Regions from separate parts of the Homo sapiens genome. Here all the other regions are linked to region 4. The links are contacts of gene promoters, found by promoter capture Hi-C in human tissues and cell types (Jung and others, 2019). All regions are on one chromosome and are shown on one strand. The core of a region is centred on a gene start or on the middle of the fragment in contact, and the rest is flanking DNA. Distances in the headings are between cores, read along the strand shown. Region 1 has its middle 34 kb from the start of TRW-CCA2-1. Region 2 overlaps B9D1 (B9 domain containing 1). Region 3 overlaps LOC105371574 (a long non-coding RNA gene). Region 4 holds the start of RNF112 (ring finger protein 112).

Region 1 (4,869 bases), core at 1,653-4,152, 62 kb before region 4:
AGCACAGGGTTGGGGGTAAGGTCATAGATCAACAGGATCCCAAGGCAGAAGAATTTTTCTTAGTACAGAACAAAAAAAAAGTCTCCCATGTCTTCTACTTTCTACACAGACACAGCAACCATCCGATTTCTCAATCTTTTCCCCGCCTTTCCCCCCTTTCTATTCCACCAAACCGCCATTGTCATCATGGCCCGTTCTCAATGAGCTGTTGGGTACACCTCCCAGACGGGGTGGTGGCCGGGCAGAGGGGCTCCTCACTTCCCAGTAGGGGCGGCCGGGCAGAGGCGCCCCTCACCTCCCGGACGGGGCGGCTGGCCGGGCCGGGGGCTGACCCCCCCACCTCCCTCCCGGACGGGGCAGCTGGCCGGGCGGGGGGCTGACCCCCACCTCCCTCCCGGACGGGGTGGCTGCCGGGCGGAGACGCTCCTCACATCCCAGACGGGGCGGCGGGGCAGAGGCGCTCCCCACATCTCAGACGATGGGTGGCCGGGCAGAGACGCTCCTCACTTCCTAGATGGGATGGCGGCCGGGAAGAGACGCTCCTCACTTTCCAGACTGGGCAGCCAGGCAGAGGTGCTCCTCACATCCCAGATGATGGGCGGCTGGGCAGAGACGCTCCTCACTTCCCAGACGGGGTGGCGGCTGGGCAGAGGCTGCAATCTCGGCACTTTGGGGGGCCAAGGCAGGCGGCTGGGAGGTGGAGGTTGTAGGGAGCCGAGATCACGCCACTGCACTCCAGCCTGGGCAACATTGAGCACTGAGTTAACGAGACTCCGTCTGCAATCCCGGCACCTCGGGAGGCCGAGGCTGGCGGATCACTCGCGGTTAGGAGCTGGAGACCAGCCCGGCCAACACAGCGAAACCCCGTCTCCACCAAAAAAATACGAAAACCAGTCAGGCGTGGCGGCGCGCGCCTGCAATCGCAGGCACTAGGCAGGCTGAGGAAGGAGAATCAGGCAGGGAGGTTTGCAGTGAGCCGAGATGGCAGCAGCACAGTCCAGCTTCGGCTCGGCATCAGAGGGAGACCGTGGAAAGAGAGGGAGAGGGACACCGTGGGGAGAGGGAGACCGTGGGGAGAGGGAGAGGGAGGGGGGAGGGGGAGGGAGAGGGAGCGTGGGATTTTTCTAAAGGGCACCTTAAGAAAAGCCTACAGCTAACATTGCACTTAATAGTGAAAGACAGATGTTTTACCCCAGTCCTAAGATCAAGAACTTAGAAGACCATCACTTCTTTTAAACCTTGTAGTAGAGATTTTAAACAAAAACAAGAAATAAAAGTCATCTAGATTGGAAAGGAAGAAGTAAAACTATCCCTATTCCAGATGAATCCACAGGATATGCAGAAAATCCTAAGGAATCCACTAAAACGTTTTAATTCCACAAGTTTGCAGGATAAAAGATTGCTATGCAAAAATCCATTGCTTTTTTTTTTTTTTTTTTTTTTTTTTTTTCAGACAGATTCTCACTCTGTCGCCAGGCTGGAGTGCAGTGGCGTGATCTCAGCTCACTGCAACCTCCGCCTCCCAGGTTCAAGCAATTCTCCTGCCTCAGCCTCCCGAGTAGCTGGGACTACAGGCGAGCGCCACCACGCCCAGCTAATCTTTGTACTTTTAGTAGAGATGGGGTTTCACCATGTTGGCCAGAATGGTCTTGATCTCTTGACCTCATGATCCGCCCACCTCTGCCTCCCAAAGTGCTGGGATTACAGGCATCAGCTGCTGCGCCCAGCCAAATCCATTGTATTTCTACATACTAGCAATGGGCTGGGTGTGGTGGCTCACACCTATAATCCCAGCACTTTGGGAGGCCAAGGAGGAGTGCTTGAACTCAGCAGTTCACGACCAGCCTGGGCAACATAGCAAGATCCCATCTCTTAAAAAAATGTTAAAAAAAAGAAATTAAAAATAAAAAAATATATACTAGCAATGAATAATTCAAAAATAAAATTAAGAAAATAATTACATTTTAAATATCCTCAAAATAGTAAAGTACATAGGAATAAATTTAATAAGAGAGGTATAAAATTTATACTCTAAAAACTACAAAATTTCATTGAAAGAAATTTAGAAAGACCTAAATAAAACTTTCCACGTTCATGGGTGGGAATATTGTTAAGATGTTGGTACTTCTGAAATTGATCTAGAGAATCAATGCAATCCTATCAAAATAATGACTGGATCCTTTGAGGAAACTGACAAGCTGGTTCTAAAATCTGTGTGGGTACTCAATGCAGCAGCGTAGCCAAAACAATCTTGAAAACAGAACAAAGTTGGAGGACTCATACTTCTGGATTTCAAAATTTACTATAAAGCAACAGTAACTAAGAGACGGTGGTACTGGCATGAGGATAGACATATAGATCAATGGAATAAAATTGAGAGTCCAGAAATAAATTCATGTATCTATGGTCAACTGATTTTCAACAGGGCTGCAAAGACCATTCAGTGGAAAAATAATAGTCTTTTCAACAAATGGTTCTGGGATAACTGGATATCCACATGCAAAAGAATGAAGTTGTATGCCCACTTCATGTCATGTACAAAATTAAGTCAAAATAGACCAAAGACCAAAATGTAAGAGCCCGAACTGTAACTCTTTTAGAAGAAAACATAGGGCTAAGATTTTGTGAGCTTGGATTCTTAGATATGATGCCAAAAGCATAAACGACATAATAAAAAATAGATACATTCGGCTTCATGAAAATTAAAAACTTCTGTGTTTCAAAGGACACTACCAATAAAATGAAAAGACAGCCCACAAAATGGGAGAAAATATTTGCAAATCATATACCTGACAAGGAATTCATATCTAGAATATTGTGTTAGTCCTTTTTGCACTGCTATAAATAAATACCTGAGACTGGGTAATTTACAAAGACATCTATTTGGTTCACAGTTCTGCAGGCTGTACAAGCAGGCAGCCGCATCTGCTCAGCTTCTGAGGAGGCCTCAGGAAGCTTACGATCATGGCAGAAGGCAAAGAGGGAATAGGCACATCACATGGCAAGTGGGAGAGTGGGAGAGAGGCGAGGAGGTGCCAGGCTCCTTTTAACAACCAGTTCTCTAGTGAACTAACAGAGTGAGAACTCACTTATTACCATGGGGAGGGCACTGAGCCATTCATGAGGGATCTGCCCCTGTGACCCAAACATATCAAATATATAAAGAACTCTTACAATGCAATAATAAAAAGACAAATAACTGGATTTTTAAAATAGACAAAAGATCTGAAATTTCCCCAAAGAAGATATACAAACTGGCCGGGCGCGGTGGCTCACGCCTGTAATCCCAGCACTTTGGGAGGCTGAGGTGGGTGGATCACCTAAGGTCAGGAGTTCGAGACCAGCCTGGCCAAAGTGGTGAAACCCTGTCTCTACTAAAATACAAAATATTAGCCGGGCCTGGTGGTAGATGCCTGTAATCCCAGCTACTCAGGAGGCTCGGGAGGCTGAGGGAGGGGAATTGGTTGAACCCAGGAGGCAGAGGTTGCAGTGAGCAGAGATTGCACCACTGCTCTCCAGCCTGGGCAACATGAGCAAAACGCTGTCTCAAAAAAAAAATGTATATATATATATATATATATACACACATATACACACACACAAACAAACTGCCCAACGCCCATGGAAAGATGCTCAGTATCAATTGTCATCATGGAAGTCTAAATCCAAACCACATTGAGATGCCACTTGACACCCACTAGGATGGGTATAGTAAAAAAAGACAAGTCATAACAAGTGTTGGCAAGAAGTTGGAGAAGTGTTGACAAATGAAACCCTTAAATGCTATTGGTGGGAATGTAAAGTGTTGAAGCCCCTTTGGGAGATAGACTGGCAGTTCCCAAACTAAACAGTGTCACCATTTGACCCAGCAAATCCACTTAGATTATATCAAAAAAAATGAAAATATATATGCACACAAAAACTCTTACCTAAACATTCATGGTATGTTCACGGTAGCCAAAGATGGAAACAACCCAAATGTCCATCAGCTGATTACCAAATGTGGTGTATCCTACACTGGAATATTCTCCAGCCATGAAAAGGAATGAGATACCGATCCATGCTCCAACATGGATGAACTTTGGAAGCACATGCAAAGGAAAGAAGGCAGTCACAGAGGACCATGTGTACACTCCATTTATGGGTGTGTGTGTGTGTGTGTGTGTGTGTGTGTGACGGAGTTTCATTCTTTCGCCCAGGCTGGGGTGCAATGGTGCAATCTCAGCCCACTGCAACCTCCGCCCCTCGGGTTCAAGTGATTCTCCTGCCTCAGCCTCCCGAGTAGCTGGGATTATAGGCACCCACCATCACCCCCAGCTAATTTTTGTATTTTTAGTAGAGATGGGGTTTCGCCATGTTGGCCAGGCTGGTCTCGAACTCCTGAACTCGGGTGATCCACCCGCCTTGTTCTCCCAAAGTGCTGAGACTACAAGCGTGAGCCATTGCGCCCAACCGACTCCATTTATATGGAAGTCCATAATAGGCAATCTTAGAGACAGGAAGTAGATTAGTGGTGTCTAGGGCTGCAGTGGACGTGGGGGATTTGGGAATGACGACTAATGAGGACAGAGTTCCTGTTTGGGGTGATGGAAATGTTCTAGAATTGATTGTGTTGATGGTAGCTCTGCTCTGTGAATATATTAAAAACTATTGACTGCTCACTTTATGTTGATGAATTGTATATGAATTATATCCTTTTTTTTTTTTTTTTTTTTTTTTTGAGACGGAGTTTCGCTCTTGTTGCCCAGGTTGGAGTGCAATGGTGCGATCTTGGCTCACTGCAACCTCTGCTTCCCAGGTTCAAGCTCTTCTCCTGCCTCAGCCTTCCAAGTAGCTGGGATTACAGGCATGCGCCACCACGCCCAGCTA
Region 2 (4,747 bases), core at 1,054-3,553, 53 kb after region 4:
GCTGTGTGGACCCGTTCCTAACAGGCCACGGACTGGTTGAGGACCCCTGCCTTAGACCTTATCTGTGCCCAGCCCTGTGCCAGGCAGTGGGGACACAGAAAGGCATTAAATCTCTTCTCTACTCATGGTCTAGAGGAACTGACAGACTTAGACACAGGCAATCATTGCTTTTATGGAGGGAAGCACGGGGCTAAGGGAGCCAAGAGGAGACCTTAAACCAGCTTGAGAGTTAGAGCAGGCTCCCTGAAGGGTAAGTTTTGAAGGGTGAGCAGGAGTTTTCCGGATGAAGTAGGAAGGACAAATCAGACAAGGCAGAGCCTGAGCAAAAGCCAGGGGCCGTGGCACCTGGGAGTCTCCCGTGGACTCCCGCTTCTTGGTCCTCAGCCTCTCCTCTGAACACATCTCCAGCCGTCTCTTAGACCCACTCCCAGGTGTCTCACGTTCAGAATTCCCCTTGGCTGCACCTGCCTAGCAAATGCATTGGCCTCAGCATGAATACCAGTCGACAGAATCTGTCTGTGCTTTTTTCAGTTTCCAGAGTATGATGACCTCTACTGCAAGTACTGCTTTGTGTACGGCCAGGACTGGGCCCCCACAGCGGTAAGCTGGACTCTTGGGCCTCCCTTACCGCCTTCATGACTTTTGGGGTTTCTGAAGGTGTCATATCCTTCCCCTCCCCATTCAGAACAAGTTAAGAGGTAGAGACTGAGTTCAGGGGAACCCAAACATGAGTGTTCCTGGTAAAGCGGGAGCAGAGGACACAGCCATGGTTGGACTCCCTGATCCATCCACCAAGACTGCACTCAGAAGCCCTACCCTGTGAGCTTCCCCGGGGCAGCAAAGAGCAACACCTGCAGTAGGAGGCAGGCCCCAGTGAGCCAGCCTGGACGTGGCTGAGCTGTGGACACTCTGGCCAGTCCGCTCACCATTTGGCCTCTCCTCAGCCAGTGGGGAGGACCTGGAGTAAAAAGACAGAGTAGGAGCTCTCCTTCCAGGACTTCCCAAGGGGTAGCTTGCCTCCACCAGGTGAGGGACTGTGGTGACAACTTCAGCCCGCTCTGTGCTCTGCTGTTTGCAAAGCACTTGTTTCATCTTCATAGCAGTTTAAGAAAAGGAGACTGAACTTATTTAAGCTCTCTGAGCCTCAGTTTCCTCATTTGTACAACTGAGATGATAATCCTTCTTTTCCCTTTATTGATTGTCTTCTGGGTGCTGGGGATGCAGGGGTGAGCAAAGCCAAACCAGAAGACCCTGCCTTCCCGGAGCGCACGTTCTTGCTGGGGGGTCAGATAATAAGGAGTGCATATTCTAGGATGTTAGTAAGCCAGAAGTGTGAGGGGAGACCAAGCCAGGAAGTGACAGGGATGAGTGATGAGAAGGAGGCTGCGATCTCGCTAAGGCTGCCAGGGAGGGCCTTGCCGAGAAAGTAACTTTTGAGGAAAGACCTGAAGGAAGTGAGGGAACAAGCCATGTGGAAACCCGTGAGAACTGTCCAGGCAGAAACAGCAGAGAGTGCAAAGGCCCTGGAGCAGGAGCTTGCCTGGCATGTTTGAGGACCAGCAAGGAGGCTGTGTGGCCACTGGAGAGCGAGCCAGCAGGAGAGTGGCTGGAGCAGAGAGGCACCTGGGCAGGTCTTGTCAGAGTAAGGACTGTGACCTTTACTCAAAGGGAGATGGGATCCCACTGGAGAACTTTCAGCAGAGAAAGTGATCTGACTTATGTTTTTAGAAGATTCCCTGGCTTCTACGACAAGGATAGACTCGGGGGGAAAGGGCAAGAGCAGGCAGCCCAGTTGGCTCTGACAGCAGTGGAGATGGGAGAGGAGGGCAGTGGCAGTGGGGTGGTGGGAGGGGCTGGACTGCAAGTATATTCTGAAGATAGAGCCGCTGGGTTCTTTTGATGGATGTGAGGTCTGAGAGAAGGAGGAGTTAGGATTCACAGCAGGGCTTTTAGCCTGAGCACTTAGAAGTAGGCAGCTGCCTTTCAGTGAGAAGAACAGATTGGGGAGAGCTACCTGGAGCTCAGCCTGGTGTGGGTTAAGGTTGAGGCACCCACTGGATATCCAAGAGGAGGTGCTGATCCAGAGTGCAGAGGCAAGGACCAGGCTGGAGACATAAATTTGGGAATCATCGACATCTAGAGCACATTGAAAGCCATGAGATGGATGAGATCACCAAGTACAGGTAGAGGAGCTGGCCAAAGATGCAGCCTTAGGACGGCAACACTGAGAAGGAACCAGCAAGAGCCACTGAGCAGGGGCCACCCTGTGCAGTGGAGAGACCCAGAAGCCAAGGGAAGACAGTGTATCAAGGAGTAAGCAGCTGCATCAGGTGCTGCTGATGGGTCAAGTAACACGAGGATAGAGAAATGACCATTGGATCTAGCAATGTTGGTCACGGGCATTAATGGAGAAAACCCTTTGGTAGAGTGCTGGAGCCAGCAGTCACATTGGAGTGGGGTCACAAAAGAATAGCAGGGGAGGAATTGGAGCCGGTGAGTGTGGCAGCTCTTTGAGGCAGTTTTGCTATAAAGGGAGCAGAGAAAGGGTTGGTGGGTGGAAGAAGCCGCAGAGTTGAAAGAGGACTATTTTTGATGGAGAAAACACATTTACGTATTTACCGATGGGGATACTCAGGTGAGGATGGGGATACTCAGGTGAGGGTGGGGATGCAGGAGAGTGTAAGCATGCTGGACCATTCCTTCAGTGGGGCAAGAGCTTGGGACCAGATCTAGTGCCCTTGTGCCCGGGAGAGTGGCTGGCCTCCCAGGGTTGTCAAGCTACGGCGTTAAAGTACCAGACTTAAAGAGGTACTCCATCATCTCTTAGTCCCCTTTGTTTGGAAGTTCGTGTCTTGGGAGAAGACAGCTGAGAAAACAGCCCTCCCAACTGCCTGCTGAAGGTAAGGGGAGGAGCCGCAGCAGCTTGGCTCTGCTCTGAATCCAGCCGTCTGTGTCACTGTCCTCACAGGGTCTGGAGGAGGGGATCTCACAGATCACATCCAAGAGCCAAGATGTGCGGCAAGCACTGGTGTGGAACTTCCCCATTGATGTCACCTTTAAAAGCACCAACCCCTACGGCTGTGAGTCTGCAGGGGCCCTGTGGGGTAGGGTGGCAGAGCTTTCACACAGCACCCCCAAGACAGCCTCTGCCTCATCCAGCCCATGACTGTTCACATTCAGATTGTCACCTGGGCTCTTGAAGCAGCCCTCAACGTTCTCTCTCGCCATCTGTCCCTTTCCCTCCTCTTCTTCCTCATCCCCACTCACCCCCTTCATCTGCTACAGGCTGTGCAGCTGGCCTTCTGGAAGTTCAGAGTGCATCAGGGCTAGTGGCCACGCCTGTAAAAGGCAGGCTCCCCACCCTGGCATGCAGGACTGTGGCTGTTTGGCCTGGAGGCCTGACTCTGTGCCTGCTGACTTCCCATGGCGTGTTGTGTTCCGGCTAGACCCTGGCACTTTCTCCTCCTGTGCTAGTCCCTCAACTTTCTTCATCTGAGCTTTATTCATGCCGATCCATCTGTCTGGATACCATTCCCACGTCCTATGTCTAACCTCTTTCCCAAGGGCTTCCTGGCTGGCATTGCTTACTTTCTACCTTGGCTGGTGGTTATTAACCATTCTGATTGTTCACTTGCACTTCATAAGTGCCTACTGTGCACAAAGCCTGGGCTTAGTCTCCATGGGGACTATGAATACTTTCACTGTGTGGACTTATCCGAGCTTCCCAATCATACCTGCTGGAGAGATTTCTCTCCATTTCTTTTCCCATATAAGGAAACTGACACTCAAAATTGACATCATTTGCCTTCTGCTTTACATCTAGTGACCAAGTGTGGATTTTAATTCAGGCCCATCTGATTTCACAATCTAGGCCTTTCTACTGCACGTGGCCTGGGCCTAGGCTTACCACGGTGTGGAGGGTCTGGAGCAGAAAATGCTTGGTGGTCCTCCTGAGCAGGGAATTCCATCCTGCTGTCATCATCCATGAGTAGGAAGTTTCAATAGACTTCCTGGAACAGTGCAATAGGTACTGTAGGTACTGGACGAACCTCCTCCTGCCGAGGACAGGTAGGAGAGGTAAATGTAATACACAAAAGCAAAAACAAAAAGCAACTACCTCAGAGGCATCAGAGAGCTAGCAAAGTAGAAGAGATTTACCAGGCAAGATCCAGGAGAACAGAAATCCAGAGAGGTTACCCCAATCCCATCTCCTCTGGGAGTGTTTGCTGATTTCAATAGAGGTGATTGAGAGACTGATCAAGACTTTTGACAGCCTCTCTGGGTCCAGGACACAAAAAAACTGATGTTCAGAGCCTTCCAAGGGGTTGGGAGGAGGGCCTCAGGTAAATCTCACCAACTGGGTTAAGACCTCAAAGAGCTGCCCTAGGAATAAGGGAGAGATGGAAGCAGAGCAGCCTCACAGGGATTTCAGCTCAGCCCCTGATGATTTCAACCTCCTGATTCTTCTATTCAGCTCCAAGATTGTTACACCAAGGCACCTGACAAAAACAAATTAGAAACCTCTTTGGGCTGGGCATGGTGGCTCATGCCTGTAATTCCAGCACTTTGGGAGGCTGAGGCAGGCAGATCGCCTGAGCTCAGGAGTTTAAGACCAGCCTGGGCAATATGGCAAAAATCTCTCTCTACTAAAAATACGAAAATTAGCTTGGCATGGGGGTGGGCGCCTGTAATCTTAGCTACTTGGGGGGCTGAGGCAGAAGGATCGCTGGAGCCTAGGAGGTCGAGG
Region 3 (4,356 bases), core at 1,126-3,625, 42 kb before region 4:
CATTGTCAGCGTGGAATGCAACAACAGACTTTAGTTTTAGGAGCTGGACTTGGATTGCACATCTCAAGTCCTTATTTATGGGAAGAAAGACATCTTGAAAGGTGTGTGAAAGGAAAATAAATATTGAGACTCCCAAACTCACTCAGCCAGAGGGAAAAGTCAAGCTGGGAACCAGCGCATGCAAACCTGCCTCCCATTTTGGGTCACAAATAAGATGGCTGCAAAGATGAAAAGCTACATACCTCCCTCACATTTTAGGGTAAAGATCCTTATGGGCCTCAAGATCTTTACTCTAAAATGTTTCTCTTGCAGTTCACCATGGCAATGTAAATTGATAGCTTATCTTCACAGGTGCTGGGACATACGACAGAGCTCAGATTCATGCTTCTGCCCATGTGAGACAAATGCATATCTTACTGTTTCCTCTGCCCTATGGTCTATGGCATCTCATGTAAAAATTCAGATTCACTGAGCCAGGCAAAGGCATGAATGACTGTTTTTCCCTACCCCGCTCTCACATGAAAGTTGTGTATTTCTCAATATTCCGCCCATTCCCCTTTAAATATTGAAGCCACCAAAATTATCTTCAGAGAAAGGCATAGACCTGTCTCTGGGAGTGCATCCTTAACTTTGGCAAATAGGCCTCCCAAAATGATTGAGACTTGCCTGGGTTATTTTCCTTGATTGACAGTAAGTCAAGTCAATTGACATAAGAGTTTACTTATGAGTGCTTTGTGGGGGTTGTCATCTGGAGATGCCTGAGGCCCTTCCATGGGGGTCTAGCTAATGCCTAATGCTTTGACACAAGGTTGTGAAGTAACAGCAATTCATTTGGAAGAGGGTGTTGCCAGTGACTCAGCCTCCAGGCTTAACTTTCCCTTTGGCAGAAGGAGTTGAGTGGTCCTGAGATTTTTTATTTCCTTGCATAAAGACCTACTAAAAGCAAAAGTGTTTGCAGCACCGCCATTCACTTGGCAATTCAGGCAAAGTGGCTGTGGAGAGGTGTCTGGGGATGAGACTTATCGTGGTGCCCACACTCCCAGGGAGCTCTTCTTTAGCGTTTCCACTCTGACCCTGGCTGATCACCTCTCACGGAGAAAAGTGCAGGGGTTGCCAGGCATTTGAAGAGCACAGTTCTAAAGTTCCTGGTTGCTTCTTTGGCAGAGCACCTGGGTACCACAGCTGTTTGCTGACAGCGAAGTTCCCTTCATTTTGAAAATCTGAGGATGCTGTCTCAGGGTTAGTAGGGGCCGTGCTGACAGGCAGGAGATCGGAACTCAATTTGTGTATTTCTGCATTAAATGGGGATGTGCACTTCACCTGGATCCCTGTATGACTTGTCTGACGTCACCTGAGTAAAATCCCCGTAGTTAGAAGGATGGAGAGGCCCTGCATTCCCGTTCATCCTGAAAGTGAAAATCAAGTGCACTTTCCCCCTTTTGTTCCAGGGGAAGTTCTGTCAACCCTGGCCTGCTTTGGGACACCAGTGGACCTCCCCAGAGCTGGTGGTGAAAATTCCTGGAGGTCAGGATGCTCTTGCTGGTCATTGGAGAAAACCACAGGAGTAGCAGACTCCTCTGTCTCCTCACCAGGCCAGACCACGCTCAGTCTCTGGGGTCTTTCCCCAAGATCCTTCCAAGCACATTCCCTTGGCTGAGGTTTTGCTGGAGACTGGGGCTCCCTGGGCAGCCACGAGGCCCACAGCAGCTGGGGCTATCCATGGGAAAGGCCCAGCTCCTGTCCACAGCCACAGTCCCTGAACCCAGCGACCCCATGACACTGCAGGACCCTTTCTCCCACTAGGGCCCTACATCCACCCTTCCTTGGGGGCAGGAGGCTGGAGATATCTAAGGTCCAGGGGATCCTGGGTGAGGATGGGAAAGTTAATCACCTTATCTAGTGTGTTAGTCCATATTGCTTCACTATAAAGAAATACCTGAGGCTGGGGGAATTTATATAGAAGAGGGTTATTTGGCTCACAGTTCTGCAGGATGTACAAGAAGCATGGCACTAGCACCTGCTTCTGGTGAGGCCTCAGGGAGCTTCCAATCATGGCCAAAGGCAAAGGGGAGCCACTGTGTCACATGTGAGAGAGAGAGCAAGAGATGACAGGCTGTCTTAAACCACCAGCTCTCATGTGAACTAATAGAGTGAGAACTCACTCATCAGTTCAGGAAGGGCACCAAGCCACTCATGAGAGATCTACCCCCATGACGCAAAAACCTCCCACCAGATCCTACCTTAAGCACTGGAGATCACACTGCAACACGTGATTTGGAGGGGACAGACATCCAAACCATATTCACCAGTCAAGAGTACCTGACGAGCCCTTAGAGCCCATTTTTATTCCCAAGTAAGTGATTGGCTGGATGACTTCCCTTACCTACTTTGTCCAGAGGCTGTTCACCTGGGAGACCTGCTGGTATATGGGCCACGGAGATTTGCACCCCCTTCCCCGGATTCTCAAGTGCCACTAGAAGTCTCCAGAACTGTGAATTTATTCTAGCACGCCCTGCACTTCACAAGAAAAAGAGATCTCTCCCTGGGCTCCTGCCGGCTCCTCCAGGATACAGCACTGGAGAAGGCAACTTGGTGTTTCCTATCTCCGCCACTCTGGATTTGGGAATCCAAACCCAACTCCCTTTCTATCACTGACAGCGATTGAGGCCAATGCCTACTCCTTTGGGATGATGCTCGCCTGTCTCAGGACCGACTGACCCATGTTCAACTGCTTTTCACATGGAATCCTTCTCCACTTTGGCCTTCAAAACGCTCATTTGAATATTTACTACTACCACCAAGATCTGCCCCTGCCATGGTGCCACCTGGGCCCACCCCTAGGCTTGCAGGCACACCACAGTGGCCCCTTCTGCCAGTCCCAGCCAGTGTGTGTGTGCATGACCCTGCGTGTGCATGTCTGCATGTTAAGAGGGTAGATACAATGTCAAGCATTCTTAAAAAGATTTTTGAAAGATATTTTTTAAAAGTCAAAGAACTGTAGAATGTTTTTAAAGTATGTATTTGTGCATTTTTTGATGTGTTAAATGGGACGATATCAGAATCATATAAACAAAATTGCGCCAGGCGCGGTGACTCGCCTGTAATCCCAGCACTTTGGGAGGGCGAGGCGGGCGGATCACAATGTCAGGAGATCGAGACAGTCCCGGCTGACACGGTGAAACCCCGTCTCTACTAAAAATACAGAAAAATTAGCCGGGCATGTTGGTGGGCGCCTGTAGTCCCAGCTACTCGGGAGGCTGAGGCAGGAGAATGGCATGAACCCAGGAGGCGGAGCTTGCAGTGAGCAGAGATCGTGCCATTGCACTCCAGCCTGGATGACAGAGCAAGACTCCGTCTCTAAATAAATAAATAAATAAATAAATAAATAAATAAATAAATATAAAAAATAAATAAAAATGCTAACATTCCACATCTCTGGAAAGGTCTATAGAATTCTGGGAGGTAAACTTTGTCTTCCAAACATCTGTCCATTAATTGTTTGTTTACTTATTTTTTTGAGACAGATTCTCTGTCACCCAGGCTAGAGTGCAGTGGTGTGTTAATGGCTCATGGCAGCCTTGGTCTCCAGGGCATAAGTGATCCTCCTGCCTCAGCCTCCTGAGTAGCTGGAACTATAGGTGTACATCACCATTCCTGGCTATTTATTATTATTATTATTAGTAGTAGTAGTAGTAGTAGTAGAAACAGGGTCTCATTATCTTGCCCAGGCTGGGCGTGATACTCCTGAGCTCAAGCAATCCTTCCATCTCAGCCTCCCAAAGTGCTGGGATTACAGGCATGAGCTACTGCACCCGGTCTGTTCATTCATTGTTTTGTTGTTGTTGTTATTGTTCTGTTTTTATTTGTTTGTTTTTCTCACTATTGAAGATAGAAATTTTTTAAATTAATTGTTATTAGAAAAATAGGCATTTGCATTATCTGTGTTAAAGAAAGTTCCCCCAGATAGTGTTCCATGGAGCCAGTGCCTAGAAGACCACATCTTCTATCTTGTCCCCTTTACGTTTAATACAGTGATGAAACAATCCACTAACAACGGGCAAGTCCTCAATTTTCAGAGGTATTTATAACCGCACACAAGCACGGGATTGATTTTTCTGATGCCAATTTGCCTGTTATTCCCCTCTCAGTTGGATCTGTTTTCTTTTTTTCTTTTTTTTTTTTTTTTGGAGACGGAGTTTTGCTCTGTCACCCAGGCTAGAGTGCAATGGTGTGATCTTGGCTCACTGCAACCTCTACCTCCCGGGTTCCAGCAATCCTCCTGCCTCAGCCTCCTGAGTAGCTGGGATTACAGGCATGCACCAACAAAACCCGACTAATTTTTGTATTATTAGTAGA
Region 4 (4,935 bases), core at 1,518-4,017:
TGGGCCTCAGAGTATGGGAGAGGCCAGTATGGGGGCCTCGAAGGCTGCAGGGCTGGGCTGGCCTCAAGGCCGGAGACAAGCCTGGAGGGTAATGTGATCCATCAGGTCTTCAGCTGCCCCTGGGACCATCAGCCCACTTTTAGGAATAACCCACGTTCCCACCTTCACCAACTAGGAGCACCTTCCCCCTTCTAAGGCAGCCCCAGAACCTATCAGGACCCCAGACACCAAAGCCTGTGAGATGCTCTGGCCTTGAGGAAGCTGAGCTGGAGAAGGGTGTGTGGGGTGGGGATGCCAACATCAGCGCCCCCCATCACCTGGTAGGAGCTCAGCATCGTGGTGAGAGCACAGAGCTTGATCCTTGTTTCCCTGCTCAGCTCAGGGCTCATGGCATCCCCTGTGTCCACCAGGAACACCGCCACCTATGCAGGGGGTAGGGAAAGACCCAAGGGGCCAGGCCTGCCTTGTTCTCCCACATTCTTCCCAACCCTGCCCCGTCCCATCCCCATCTTCTATCCTCACCCCAGAGACGCCCTTCTTGATTCCCCTTCCCATCCCTGACCTCCTTCTGCCACTTCCCCCCTCACCTTCTTCCCTTCTTTCCCCAGCAAGAAGGGGTGGCTCCACATCCATATGCCCCTGGCGAGGCCATTGGCGCCCCACCTGCAGCCCTGCAGGGATGCCTCTCCTCCTCTTGGCCGGCCGCCCTCACCAGACTCCTGCAGGGGAGAGAAGGGAGAGCATCAGTTGGTCGGTTCCTTGTCCCCACAGACCGGAATACCAGACCCAGCTTCCCCCAGGCAGGAACCCCCATCCTTGCTCCCCGCCTCCCTCCTGCCCCGCCCCGCCCTCACCAGGCCCGGCAAGCCCTGAAGCAAATGGTTGAGGAGGAAGGACTTCCCTGAGTGCTGCTCCCCCAGGACAGCGAGGAGGCAGACTGGGGTGTCCCTGGCCAGAGGGTGCTTCAGGCAGCGGTTGATGGCCCCCATCCTAAGGATGAGGCCCCCAGAGGCATTGATGCGAACCAGCAGCAGCGGCTCCGCCCTCACAGGACACGTCTCCTGGGCCAGGAGAAGAGAGGGGCCCCTGAGCATCCAGGACCAGCTCCTGACCCTGGAATGTGTTCAGCCTGGAGCTCTGTGTCCTGATGTTCTAGAATAGGGCCAAAGCCACCCCCTCCTCTTGGGTCTGACTGATTAGGCCCAGTCCCCAGACCTGCAGTGCAGGGGGCAGCGGCCGCTGCGGCAGGAGCTTCATCTTCTCGCCCAGGCTCCGGAGGCCCCTCTTCTGCTTGCATATCTTCCGGCACTCAGGACAGCAGGGCGGCTCACAGCCCGGGAGACGGTGTGTGCTGAAGCACCGTATGCAGAAGTCGTGGCCACAGTCCAGCGAGATGGGGTCGCGCAACCTCTCCAGGCAGATGGAGCAGGTAGGGAGCTCCCGGGGCGCCATGGGCTGGGGCCCCAGGCCTAGCTCCAACTTGGGGAAAGGTGTATGGGACCTGTGGGGCAAAACAGGCCATTGAAAAGCAGGATGTCTATTGGGGGCAGGGGGTACCGGCCAGGGTTGTGGTGGAAGACTGATGGCTTGGGAGTGGAGGTCCCTTTGTGCCAACCCAATTTCCATCAGTGCCTCCATGGACAGGCGGAGCTGCTCCCAGAGAGGCCAAGCTCTGCCCGTTCCTCACTGACATGTGTCCTAGGACCTGGGGGCCTCAGAGTGGGGGCAGCAGAGCAATGGTGAGAGAGTCTGAGAGGGAGAAAATCTGAGTGGAATGGACTCCACCACATCCCAGCCATGCAAATGCAAGCAAGTTCCTTCCCCTCTCTGGGCCTCAATTTCCTAACTGTCCCAATGGAGAGGATAGCAATACCCCTCATGGGGCCGTTGGGGTGGCCATCCGAGAGGAGGCGTGTGCAGCTGTCTGCACAGTGCCTGGTGCAAATGCTTGGGAAGAGCCTCTCCCGGCGTTCTACAGCGGGGCTCCCTCCATGAGGTGCTGACTTCAGCCAGGCCCCCAGGGATGATACCCTCCACAACCCCATGCTACAGGGACAGTGAGGAGAAGCCATCAGCCTGTGCTGCAGTTGGGCAGATGGCTCTGGATCTTAGAAGATTCCTTCCGCTCTCTGCTCTGAGCTGGCATCTGCCTCCCTGCAGCACCCACCTGCTTCTTCCTGTCCCTCCCTCCACAGCCTGGCGGATCCAGCCTCAGGCGGACAGCCCTCCCGGCTGGGCTGCCGGGCTCTGTGTTCCAGGACCGGCCATTTCAACTGACCTGCCTGGCCTCACTGCACCCATCCCAGCCTGGAAGGCCCTGCTACTTACCAACTGTTGCCGCTGTTTCCCATGAAGCTCTGTTTTCTCTCCTTGGAGAAAAAAAAAAAAAAAAAAGATTTAGAACATAATCCAGACTTCTATCTTCACCCTGGATTTCCAGGGACCCCTCATCCTCCCCACCCCCGGCCCATCCCCCAGCCCAAGGAGGGCCCTTCCCACCCCACTCTCCTTCCCGATCTTAGGACTGAAGACTTGCCCGTTTGCCAAGCCGATGACAAAAGGAAGTGACTGACAAGGCGGGCCTTGGCATGGGAGGCTGGGATGGGGAGAGGGTCCGGATGCAGAGGGGGAGGCCCCGAGACCTTCAACCAGAGGTAAGGATGCCTTTTCTCCCGGAAAGGCTAGCAGGCTGCGGTAGGTAGAAGGTGAGGTCGGGGGATGGTATCCCCGAGGAGCTGACTCCCGGTCAGAGCTGGAAAAGAAATGTGACAGTCAGGAAAGAGGAGGCTGCTGCTGGACTCACCCCAGGGGGAGGAGACACGGCTGCGGGTAGCAGGGCTCCGAGGAGGGAGGGATGGAGCCCGGCTCAGAATCCCTGGCAGAGGCTGGGATGCAGGCAAGCCGAGGTGGTGAGTCGCCATGGAGACAGAAGGGAAAGATAAGGACAGGGAGGGGGAGGGGGACAGAGAGGGAGAAGGCGTGCGGTGCACCCGCAAACATGGAGGCGCCTCCGGCAGAACCATGGGCCAGCACTGCCTCTACTGGGCCAGCTGAGGTCTCCCCAGGGCCACAGGACAGGGTGGGCAAAGAGAAGAGGTGTGAGAAACAGGAGAGGGTAAGACCAGAGCTGACCCAGAGACAAGGAGTTATTCATCCATTCATCCAATGAACAGTTACTGAGTACCTACTATGTACAGAGCCCCCAAATGCAGACCCTACTTCACATGGCCCTGCACATCCTCCTGCTCTCTCTCAGGTTTATGTCATCGACGCCCAACCCAGCTGCAGCCTTCTTCAGCACTCATGGGCCCTCCGTGTCCTCTGGTGTATTTCCCTCCCAATAGCTTTCACTCTGCCTCAAACTTGAGCAGGATGAAATCTATCAAAACTATGAGCCACCTCTGGACCTTCTAATGGCCTCTTGACTGGGCTCCTTGCCTCCCTTCCACTCCCCAGTGCACAGCCAGCATAGGCTCCCCAAGCACAGATGACCTCACACTGCGCAAACACCTTTTGTGTCTCCCTACTACCATCAGATCAAAATCCAAACTCTCCGGCCTGCGGACTGGGCTGAACCTTCCTTCCACCCTTCTCTCGCCCCACTCTTCCCTGCCTCTGCACCCTGGCTTGGCTGCTCTGCTCCTTCTCATCCCTCCTGGGACACCCTCTTAGGCCCAGTGCAGGTGCTGTGGCCTCCCTAGAGCCTCCTTTCCTCACCCCTCCCAACTGGGTGCGGTCTTGTTCTTGGACAGTTGAGGGCTGGGATATGTGATAGGCTTGGCGCAGCCCAGGCTTCAGAGCCAGGCAGATCTGGGCTTGATTCTCGGCTCAGGGGCTCTGGGACTCCACTGCACCTCTCTGTGCTCTGAGGAGCCACCATTACCTATGTAAAGCCACTAGTCCAGGCACGGGAGTCATTCGTACATCCTATGAGCTAGGATGCAGAAGGGTTGGGGTGAGGTGGGATTCAGAACCTAGAAAAGTTCAGCAGAGACCACCTTCAGCAGGTGGAGACACCCCTGAAGCTGGGGCTGGATCTTGTTCATTTTGGTGTCTGGAGGGCCTGAGATTGTGGGGCTGAATCAATCAGATTCAGAGAAGCAGTGCCATAGACTCTGCCTCCTCCTGCCCCAGGTGGGACAAGCCCCTGTGTGTTGGCAGCAAAGCCTCACACTCAGGGGATGAGGAAGCAAGCCTGAGCCGTGCCACAGCTCTGCCTTCAGGGCAGAAGGGAGGGTTTTCTCAACCCCTGTAGCCTTTCATCCTTGCAGGAGAGAAAGCGTGGGCGCTGGACTCAGATTCAAGCTCTAAACCTGCCTCCATCCCAGCATGAAATGCTGGTGAGTCACTGCCCTCTCTGAGCTTCCATTTGCTCATCACCAGGCAAAGATGTGAGGAAGCAGATGGGACAATCAGTCTTCACTTAATGATACTTACTGAGCACCAGGTACTGTGTCTCACACTGCAGTACAGCTGGAAACAAGAGAGACAAAGCTCCATCCTCCCCAAGATCCCAACTGGACAATTAAAAGGCATTGCTATGATCTGGGTGAGAACCTGGATGCGGGGAGGGTGAGGAGGGGTGTCAGGCTGTCCTGATAAGCAAGGAGGTAGAAAAAGGTTGTCAAGGCAGGGCAAACCACAGGTACAGGGCCCAGAGGAGAGGGGACACAGAACCCATTCTGGGGAACAAAGGAGGTCCGGCTGGCCTGGCAGGAATATTTGATGCAAAGATGGGTGCACCAAGGTGAAGGGCAGAGCAGGCCTGGGTCATGCAGGCCCTCAGGGGCCAAAGGAGGGGATAGGGACTTCACCAGTCAGTATCTCAGGAGGGATCCCGCAGGGCAAACATGTATGGTAGAAGCCTCACTCTTAGGGCTGGCTATATAATTTTATTTATTAATTATTGTTATTATTATTATTATTTGAGATGGA

The links. Contacts are between HindIII fragments. The study calls those that stand out against the background at their distance.
Region 1: a contact is called between a fragment that was not itself captured here and the fragment with the promoter of RNF112 in region 4, in 1 of the 25 tissues and cell types used here (lymphoblastoid cells).
Region 2: a fragment that was not itself captured here is called in contact with the fragment with the promoter of RNF112 in region 4 in 2 of the 25 tissues and cell types used here (neural progenitor cells and spleen).
Region 3: a fragment that was not itself captured here is called in contact with the fragment with the promoter of RNF112 in region 4 in 6 of the 25 tissues and cell types used here (liver, lymphoblastoid cells, mesenchymal stem cells and 3 more).

Annotation. Positions count from the first base shown.
Region 1 is chr17:19,471,547-19,476,415 of GRCh38, reverse strand. No RefSeq gene overlaps it. Among named protein-coding and RNA genes, the nearest start is that of TRW-CCA2-1, 34 kb to the left of the region's middle. RefSeq lists an enhancer at 473-1,310. The HindIII fragment of the contact is 4,473 bases long and covers 666-4,869 here.
Region 2 is chr17:19,356,173-19,360,919 of GRCh38, reverse strand. It overlaps B9D1 (B9 domain containing 1), which reads left to right. Exons shown (of 7, transcript NM_015681.6): 2 at 532-600; 3 at 2,969-3,080. Among named protein-coding and RNA genes, the nearest start is that of B9D1, 4.2 kb to the left of the region's middle. RefSeq lists an enhancer at 2,719-3,218. The HindIII fragment of the contact is 5,514 bases long and covers 1-4,747 here.
Region 3 is chr17:19,450,753-19,455,108 of GRCh38, reverse strand. It overlaps LOC105371574 (a long non-coding RNA gene), which reads left to right. Exons shown (of 3, transcript NR_188341.1): 2 at 1,449-1,524. Among named protein-coding and RNA genes, the nearest start is that of LINC02094, 35 kb to the right of the region's middle. RefSeq lists enhancers at 1,210-1,709, 1,710-2,211. The HindIII fragment of the contact is 5,812 bases long and covers 1-4,356 here.
Region 4 is chr17:19,409,064-19,413,998 of GRCh38, reverse strand. RNF112 (ring finger protein 112) reads right to left here and starts at 2,767. Exons shown (of 14, transcript NM_007148.5): 1 at 2,537-2,767; 2 at 2,329-2,369; 3 at 1,216-1,501; 4 at 855-1,061; 5 at 588-719; 6 at 318-422. The coding sequence starts at 2,590. The HindIII fragment of the contact is 25,812 bases long and covers 691-4,935 here.